Regions from separate parts of the Homo sapiens genome. Here region 1 is linked to region 2. The links are contacts of gene promoters, found by promoter capture Hi-C in blood cells and fetal thymus (Javierre and others, 2016). All regions are on one chromosome and are shown on one strand. The core of a region is centred on a gene start or on the middle of the fragment in contact, and the rest is flanking DNA. Distances in the headings are between cores, read along the strand shown. Region 1 overlaps HMGN3-AS1 (HMGN3 antisense RNA 1). Region 2 holds the start of IRAK1BP1 (interleukin 1 receptor associated kinase 1 binding protein 1).

Region 1 (4,444 bases), core at 516-3,015, 370 kb after region 2:
TGTGTTGAAGCCTTACATTACAAATATGGCCAAATCCACTTTGGTAACACAGAGGCTGCAAATATGTATTAAAAATATCATGTATTAAATATGTATTAAAAAAGCAATGAAGTTTAATATTTCACTTTTTCTTTAGTAATTTTCAGAATACATTAATTGATCTAGTACTCTCCAGAGGTGGTTGATTACTTTCTTTTTTGGAACATCTTTATGAACTCATGGATTTTTACATATTTGGTGTGCATCAGTGTATTGCTATCATTATTATTACCTTTTTAATGCTCCTATTACCACATCTTTAGCCAATGCATACCCTTTCAAATTAGTGCTTGTGTCCTTTTGACATGATCTTAATCATTTTTGATAGATTCCCTGTTCTTGGGCATTCAGTGAATGACAATAGTATACTGAAACGAATTAAGATAAAAACCAATTGCTTAGAGCTAGATAAAAATTTACAAGTTAATAATTTTATCATTAAAATAATATTTATAATGAAGATGTCTTTCAAGATATTAATTTGCCAAATACTTGATAGTTAAATAAAGAAAAAGTCAGTGAAAACATTTTTAGTAAGATATGTGTGAGAAGGATACTGAGTAGCACTTGCAATCTGGACTGGATGGCTATTTTTCTTCATGGAGATGGAAAGGTGCCACAACAAAGGTAGTGCTAAGGTGAATATTTCTCCTCTGTGATGAAAAATAACTCACAAAATTGGCTTCTTTGTTAATTTTTTTTCAAAACCAAACACTCAGATCATCAACAGCAAACAAAATTGTGAATGTTTTTACTGCACACAATAAAAATGCTACGATGAAATTGAAGCTTGCTTGTTGGATGAAGAAAGCTGATTGTGAGGACCTCGAGTTCTTGGAATCTTTAGTTCATTTACAAGTTATGAAAATAACAGCTTCGGTTGAAAAACAACAGCATTGCTTATCTTTCCTTTGATGTAGATTGCACCTGGCTGAGCACTACTCTAGGAAATGAAGTGTTCTCCCTTGTACCTTTAGTAGCCTTCAAGATCTGGGAAAGTCAGTGCAAACCTCTACTGGTGGCCCTGGAGGTAAGAAGAGTAGGCAAAGAGAATGATTTAGCAGGTAGCTAGAATTCTAGGTTAAGAGATAAAGACATCTGGGCAGAAATGAGGGTGTCACATAGAAGACAGTGAGGAGGTCAAGCTGGTAAGAAGTACAGACTCATTTGTTTATCAATATATTCCACTGAGCATTTCTACTACTTTGGAATATCAGCCTCTAAGACAGTAAAAGTAGGATGTATATACTATCTTAGCTAAGGTAGACCTGGATAAATTAACAGAGTTACTGACTGAGACAGAAAGAAAAAAAATAGTGAACAAACTTGTTTTCCAATTCCAGCTCCTCTCCTCTTTTGTCCTACTCAAAACTGTTGGAACTGTACACCTACTTCACATTTTTCAATCAGCAGGGCAAAACCATTTATAGTGTCATGACTATCATTAAGGAAAAGAAAGAGACAGAGACATTGACAGACACACACACGCAAACACACACACAGAGAGAGAGAGAGAGAGAGGGAGAAGGGAGAAGGGAAGGCTAAGAAAAGCAAAGAAAGGGCCAAGCATAGAAAATAGCAGAGTATATATGGTAAAGGTAAGTAATGTTTCATAAGATAATTGTTTCTATTTTCCATATGTGCTCATATAAACACATACACAACACAGATATGTATGTGTGTATGTTGGATTGTGACATGAAATATATTTTTAGTATGGTCTTGGTCAAAAAAATTGAATGCCACTGCTAATGAATGTTGTGGATCTTTGACATTCCGAAAAAAAAATGCTTAATATTAAAATTTTTTTTTTAGAGGTAAGATCTCATTCTGTTGCCCAGGCTGGCATGCAGTGGCACAATCATAGCTCACTGCACGTCAGACTGCTGGGCTGAAGAGATCCTCCTGCCTCAGCCTCCTGAGTAGTTATATAGGTGCAAGCCACCACACCAGGCTTGAGAGGAAGTTTTCAAGGGAAAGAATGACTTGCAGATCACCTCCTTCTTGAACTGTCCCTCTTTTCCTCTTTCAGGCAGACACAGGCAGGGTCCCTTAGGCTTTTGCTGTAAGTAATGACAAATTACTGGAGAAGTCAGATCCAGAATGTACATATTGTTGCTTTTGATAGTTGCAACTGTACACCTACTTTGCATTTTTCAGACAGCAGGGCAAAACAAATGATAGTCATGACTATCATTAAGGCAAAGAAAGAGACAGAGACATTGGCAGACAGACACACACACACACACACACACACACAGAGAGAGAGAGAGAGAGAGACAGACAGAGGGAGAAAGGAAGAAAGGGGAAAAGTGAAAATGATACTGTGTTGCTTCTGATAGTTTGTAATTCCAGATTAAGTTACTAATCTTCCATAAATAGGTCAAAAAATACACAGTGAAGAATTCAGGTGTGTAACAAAACAACATCAAAAACAACAAATAAGAGGTGGCAAAAGAATATTTTGTTTGTATTTTCCAGTCAAGTCTCTACTTTGATTGGGTGCTAACTTTTGAAGAGACCAAGGTTAGTTTTTACAAAGCAACAATAAGAGTCCAAGAACTAACGGTCCCAAATCAAATGAGCTGCCTGATATTAGTGCAGATCCCTAGGCCCCAGTCCCAAGGTATTGAATGGCTAGGCTTGGAAATCTGCATTTTCAAACAAGCTTTTCATGTGTTGCTTACACTATAATTCGGGGACTAGAGTATTTAATAGACTAGGCCCTTGCTCTCAACAAATATTTGCTGAATGCCGGTACTTGGATTCTGATGACAGGTATCTATAAAAGCCTGTGGAGTTCTCAACATACTTCCAGAGCAGGAGCGTAATTCTGTGGGTGAAACTCGCCCCACAGTCCTCACCTCATGCTTTTGCTCCATCTCAGTTTTGCTGGGCACAACCTGTTTATTTCACTTTCTTTCTCTTCTGTAGTTGCAAGGAACCTGAAGAGTGATTAAAAACTGCACACATCCAGATACCTAGAAAAGTGTCTTCTTCTTCCCAGGCAGCCCCTCTAGGCAGCTCCTTGGGCCCCTGGGAGATGAAAATCCCTGATCCCAAATCCTCAAAGGGAACTTACCTTGGCCAAAGCCCATAAGCCACACCCTTTCAAGGCTAAATGTCAATGATTGCATAAGCATACTTCACAACTGCATTAACAGCAAGAGGAACCAGGGCATTCTGTGACCTTCCAAGGAACCCACTCTTTGTTTTCCCAACCTTCAATCAAATTTAATATTTGTGCAGATTCTTTACCCCAGGTATGTTTTACACAGTTTTTCCACCCCTGGTACTTTTCAGGTTCAATCTCTGTGATATTTACCTCTCCTTCTTGCTCCTGCTGCTTAAACTCACAGGAGTGTGATTAATTTGCTCTTTTTAGCACCCAAATGACTATTTGGGAATGAATTAGATATGCTCAGTAGCTAGAACCAGGGATTGGGATACATTGGTTTAGCCATTCCTTTTTGTCAGATTGTTAGCATGGCTGGTGCCAAGAGCCATCCAGGCTCAAGGAGGTGAGAAAGTTAAGGGAAGGAAATCCCCAAAGTTCATGGTGAGGACACAGCAAAATAAGGACTCCATCCCATCCCCTTAGGTAAAAAGCCACAAGCTGCAAGGTGCCAAAGACCAATTAGTAGTTGTTGCAGAGCTCTCCGACTGAATTGCACATTCTTGTAAACTACTGTCAGTGCCAGTACACTCTCAAATGGGACCACACCCTTTTCTTTAAGCTAGTGATTTTGACTACCTATTTTTGGTGTCTTCTGCATTTCCTTCAAATCTCAGAATCCCTGGGAGCTTGTAAGGAACATTTAGTAACCCCATCCCCGTCGCTACCCTCAATGGTCCTGCCTTTCGGAGATATCATACCATTTTCCTTTTCTCAATGAAAGCAAGAAAATGCTGGTTTGGGGAAATGAGAGTCGAATGAATCATTCTGAAAAATACCATAAAGCAACTGGAGATGATTTTCAGGTTAGCTTGGTTAATAACTCTTGTAATTCTCAAGCACTAAGAAAGAGTTAGCCGATAAAATGAGTTTGGCCAGGTCAGAATGAATTCTAGCCACCAGGTCAGAATGAATTCTAGCCACAAGGCAATAAAGTTTTGCCCAGCAGTGGAAAACTAGCCTGCAAATGTGCCATAATCTTCAAGGCTGCTTATCTGCATAAGGCTTTTGTTGTTTTTAAAACACAGAATTGTGCTACTCCCACAAAAAAACTCTCATCCTTTTCTACCTTCTCATTCCCACTCCCACTTCTGCTGTCTGTAATCTTAAGCAAATGGGTTGTTTTTTTCTTTTTTTTTCTCCTAAATAATCCAATTTACCTCTTAACATGTCAAAAAAATTGTTTTAACCATTTTAAAAATAAATGTTTATCAAAAAGTTTGGAATTTG
Region 2 (4,394 bases), core at 803-3,302:
GTTGCTGCACATGAAATTATGATTAAGGCCAGCCTTCCCATCCCCCAGAATATTTATATTTACATATAGGTTCTTCCAATTATTTTTCTTTTTGGTCTCATCTGAATTATTTTCAATGTATGATATAAGATACAAATTCTTTAAAAATATAGCTTACAATGGGCCAGGCACCGTGGCTCATGCCTGTAATCCCAGCACTTCGGGAGGCCGAGGTGGACGGATCACGAGGTCAGGAGATCGAGACCATCCTGGCTAACACGGTGAAACCCCATCTCTACTAAAAATACAAAAAAATTAGCCGGGCGTGGTGGCGGGCACATGTAGTCCCAGCTACTCGGGAGCTGAGGCAGGAGAATGGCGTGAACCCGGGAGGCGGAGCTTGCAGTGAGCCCAGATCGCACCACTGCACTCCAGCCAGAATGACAGAGCGAGACTCCGCCTCAAAAAAAAAAAAATATATATATATATAAAATATACTATAGCTATATAGCTATAGTATATTATATATATAGCTTACAATTATCCCTGTACCATGTAATCATTTTCCACTGATATGAAATCTTTTATCGTATACTAAATACTTACACTTTAACTCCTGTTGCTTTTTGTTTATGACATTCACTCATTCAATAATTTATTTTGGAGGCTATATTCTTCCGCATTTATCGTAAGGGAAAAAGAATTTTTCACCAAGTTTAAGAAACATTATTTTGGGTGTCTTAAATAATAAAAGACTATGACGGAAAGTTCTTAACGTTAGTTTTTAAATTAAAATTGTTTTCAGCTAACAATAAACAAGATGGATATACACAAAATTATGTTAATCTAGTGATGAGCCTAATTAAAGGAGGGGGGTACCATTGATTTAGTTGAATTATACTAATCGAAAAGAACAGAAAAAACGATGGTGAAGAAACTACAAGAGGACTGTCAGCTTTTCAGGGTCCTTTTAAAAGAACAGTTCTTGTCCTTCTAGAACTAGTTATTCAAAATTCTTTTTTCCCCCCTCGATTCTCTTGATAAAATTCAGATAGTAAAGACGTATAAGTCAGTGGGGCTATTTTTACAAAGATCATTGCTTAGTGCTAGGAAGAGAATCCAGAAGACGGGAAGTTGAGGGTTGTGTTCTAAAAGTTCTCTGAAGAAAAGGGTACAGAGAAGCTCCAAGTTGTGCAGGCCCAGCAAACTCCATGTTGGACGTGCTTTGCTACCACCTAAATCTCTTCTGTCGGAATTCAAGGCCCGAACCATTCCAGGGATTTTAGAAAAAAATGGGGAGACACAAAAATGATGCCAAAGCCATAGCTATCATTACAAACATCCATTATGTTCACTCTGCTTTCCATATGCAACGCACTCTACATACAATGGGCGCCTTATAAGCACATAGCAAATGTGAAAAATATTATCAACATTGCTTTGATAATATTAATATATTATATATATTAGAATATATTATATATTAGAATATATTATATATATTAGAATATATTATATATTACTAATATAAAAAATATTATCAACCCTGCTTTAGAGAAGATGATACTGAGATATGAAGAATCATAAACTGTCCAAGATCACAGGGGCAAAAAGTTCACCTCAACTGAAACCTCTCACGAACCACAAAAATGTGGCCGAGGGAGCCTCAAAAAGCAGTACCCCAAGCGGGGACGGTAAAGTCAGAAAAGACAAGGCTGGGGGTAATCACAGAGAAATCTAAAAACCCGCTCGGCCTCGCTACTCTTCTCCTTCCTCTGAGGTGCAGAGGCGCGGTGGGACGACAAGGAGTTGCGAGAAAGGGCAGAGCTCACTGAGGAGGCAACAGAGAAAGTCCGCTAACAATTTTTGAAGGCCGTAAGTTAAACATGTTAAAAACTGTAGCTACTCACTCAGCCGACATCTAGTAAAAAAGATGCGGCAAGATCAACAAGGCATATAGCTTGCGCCCGCCAGAAGTTCCGCGGCCTCCACACCCATCCCGGCATACTTTGCGCCGTGCACAGGCAAGCCCTGGTGCGCATTGGCCCCTTCGGCCGCCGTCGGCCGGTAGTTACTATGGAAACCCAGCTGCCATCGCTATGTCTCTGCAAAAGACCCCTCCGACCCGAGTGTTCGTGGAACTGGTTCCCTGGGCTGACCGGAGCCGGGAGAACAACCTGGCCTCAGGGAGAGAGACGCTACCGGGCTTACGCCACCCCCTCTCCTCAACACAAGCCCAAACTGCTACCCGCGAGGTGCAAGTAAGCGGCACCTCAGAAGTGTCTGCGGGCCCTGACCGGGCGCAGGTGGTGGTGCGAGTGAGCAGCACCAAGGAGGCGGCAGCCGAGGCCAAAAAGAGCGTTTGTCGCCGTCTAGATTACATCACGCAGAGCCTCCAGCAGCAGGGCGTGCAGGTGAGATCTCCGCGGGGGAGGAAATAAGAGCCGGAAGACACAAAAGGGTTGGCAGATGGTCGGGCCCCACAGGCCCCCCTAGCGGGAAGGGAGATGTGGAGGGTCTGGAGCGTTTAGGACGCGTTTGTTGCAAAGGTACTCCGGGACGCCAGGACCTGGCAGAGTGAATATTTGACCCATTCTTCTCCTAGACGAAGGTAATTATTGGCCTCAGGCAAATTAAAAATAAAAGAATGCAAATTGGGTAGGTTTTTATCTGGGGATATTTGCTTCAGTGATTTTGTTTTTAAATTTAAAGTGATGAAATGTTAAAACTTGAAATGTTAGTTGTAAATACTTGCCCACGTGGAGTGCTGGACACTAAATATTTTGTTTTGTTTTGTTTTTATTCCGCACCATGGAATTGGCAAGTGAAGAGCACGACCTGCTTCCTTCCGATCATGTAAAACTTTGCATGGAATGGTTCTTGAGTATGTTCCGCAAACAGTAACGTTGGGAAGTGGGGAAGAAGTTGCGTCCATTTTCATTTTATAATGATTTTCATTTTATAGTGATTCCCCCAAAATTTCTTCGGCCTTCTTAGGTTTAACTTAAAAGAAAAAATCAAGCCAGTATTGTGGATACCACATATACGAAATACTTCTACTTACTTAACGGAGATGTCCATGAGACAAATCACTAAACAAATCTTACCTTAAGCCTACTCCTAAGGCAAGAAAAAAAATGAAGCCATCATTTAATCCACACAATAGCACTGTTAGGCATGTTTTAATATCCCTGTTTTCCAAATTTAAAGAGGTTAAACAATGCTCTGAACTTTAGGTAGAGCAATATTTGAACTCATGTATTCCTGAAACCAGAATGTAAGTTGCTTCCAATTCTGCCGATAATTAGAATGAAAGAAAATTAGAAATCATAGGGATCAACGATTTCAGTTTTCTCATTTTATAGAGTAGGACCCCAAAGGCCAGAGATGTAACTTATCCAGGATGACATTGAGTTGGTAAAAGTGCAGGCATTGTTACTTCCAGTCTATTGCAAGAAATTCCATACCCCGAAAAAGCAAGTCCTTATTTTTAACAAGAAAAGATATTTGAATTGCATTTATAATACAAACATACAAGTTATTACAAAGTCATTTGGACAAGATTTCTTCAAATGATTTTACAATTTAGAAAAATACAGATAATTATAAATAATGTGAGTAAAGTGGGTTTAATATGTAGAAAAATAGTTTTAAAAAACTGCTACTAGTGCTGTAGTCGTTTGAATAATGTTAACAAGTTTTTAAGTTATTTACATAAAATAAAAAGAGCTCACAGGTCTCTAATATATAAAACAACATAAGCTGGGCATGGTGGCTCATGCCTGTAATGCCAACACTTTGGGAGGCCAAGGCAGGTGGATCACTTGAGGCCAGGAGTTCGAGACCAGCCTGGCCAACATGGCAAAACCCAATCTCTAGTAAAAATACAAAAATTAGGTGGGCATGGTGGCACAGTCCTGTAATCCCAGCTACTAGGGTGACTGAGGCAGGAAAATCTCTTGAATCCGGGAGGCGAAGGTTTCAGTGAGCCGAGATGGTGCCACTGCACTCCAGCTTGGGTGACAGAGACTCTGTCTCAAATAAGTAGTAAGTAAATAAATTAACTAAGTCCAACTTAGAGTAATCAAGATTCAGTGTTCAAGGCAAGACATAAGAAAGACAGTAACCTCCCAATTATCTCTGCTAATGGATGAAAGCAGTCAGGTAGATAATTTGTTCAGGAGATAATACAAAATATCATTTATATTTTCAGAATGAATTATGGGTCTTCACAAAGTCTGTATTCATTTTAAACTTTAGAATTCTGAGCTGTAAGATTTATAAACATCACTTCCCTGCTTAAAGGGCTCCTCATAATCCAAACTCCTTTGCTTAAAAGATGGAGCCTGAGCCGGGCGTGGTGGCTCACGCCTGTAATCCCATCACTTTGGGAGGCCGAGGAGGGCAGATCACCT

Evidence for each region. Contacts are between HindIII fragments. The CHiCAGO score rates a contact against its expected background, and 5 or more counts as called.
Region 1: a fragment that was not itself captured here is called in contact with the fragment with the promoter of IRAK1BP1 in region 2 in 4 of 17 cell types (naive B cells, activated CD4 T cells, non-activated CD4 T cells and 1 more); the score reaches 6.6 in naive B cells.

What each region holds. Positions count from the first base shown.
Region 1 is chr6:79,235,976-79,240,419 of GRCh38, forward strand. It overlaps HMGN3-AS1 (HMGN3 antisense RNA 1), which reads left to right. Exons shown (of 2, transcript NR_040671.1): 2 at 1-825. Among named protein-coding and RNA genes, the nearest start is that of HMGN3, 3.5 kb to the left of the region's middle. The HindIII fragment of the contact is 1,879 bases long and covers 827-2,705 here.
Region 2 is chr6:78,865,499-78,869,892 of GRCh38, forward strand. It overlaps IRAK1BP1 (interleukin 1 receptor associated kinase 1 binding protein 1), which reads left to right and starts at 2,053. Exons shown (of 4, transcript NM_001010844.4): 1 at 2,053-2,393. The coding sequence starts at 2,079. It overlaps LOC107986613 (a long non-coding RNA gene), which reads right to left and starts at 1,992. Exons shown (of 2, transcript XR_001744210.2): 1 at 1,890-1,992. RefSeq lists enhancers at 1,948-2,057, 2,088-2,407, 2,240-2,840. The HindIII fragment of the contact is 7,957 bases long and covers 1-4,394 here.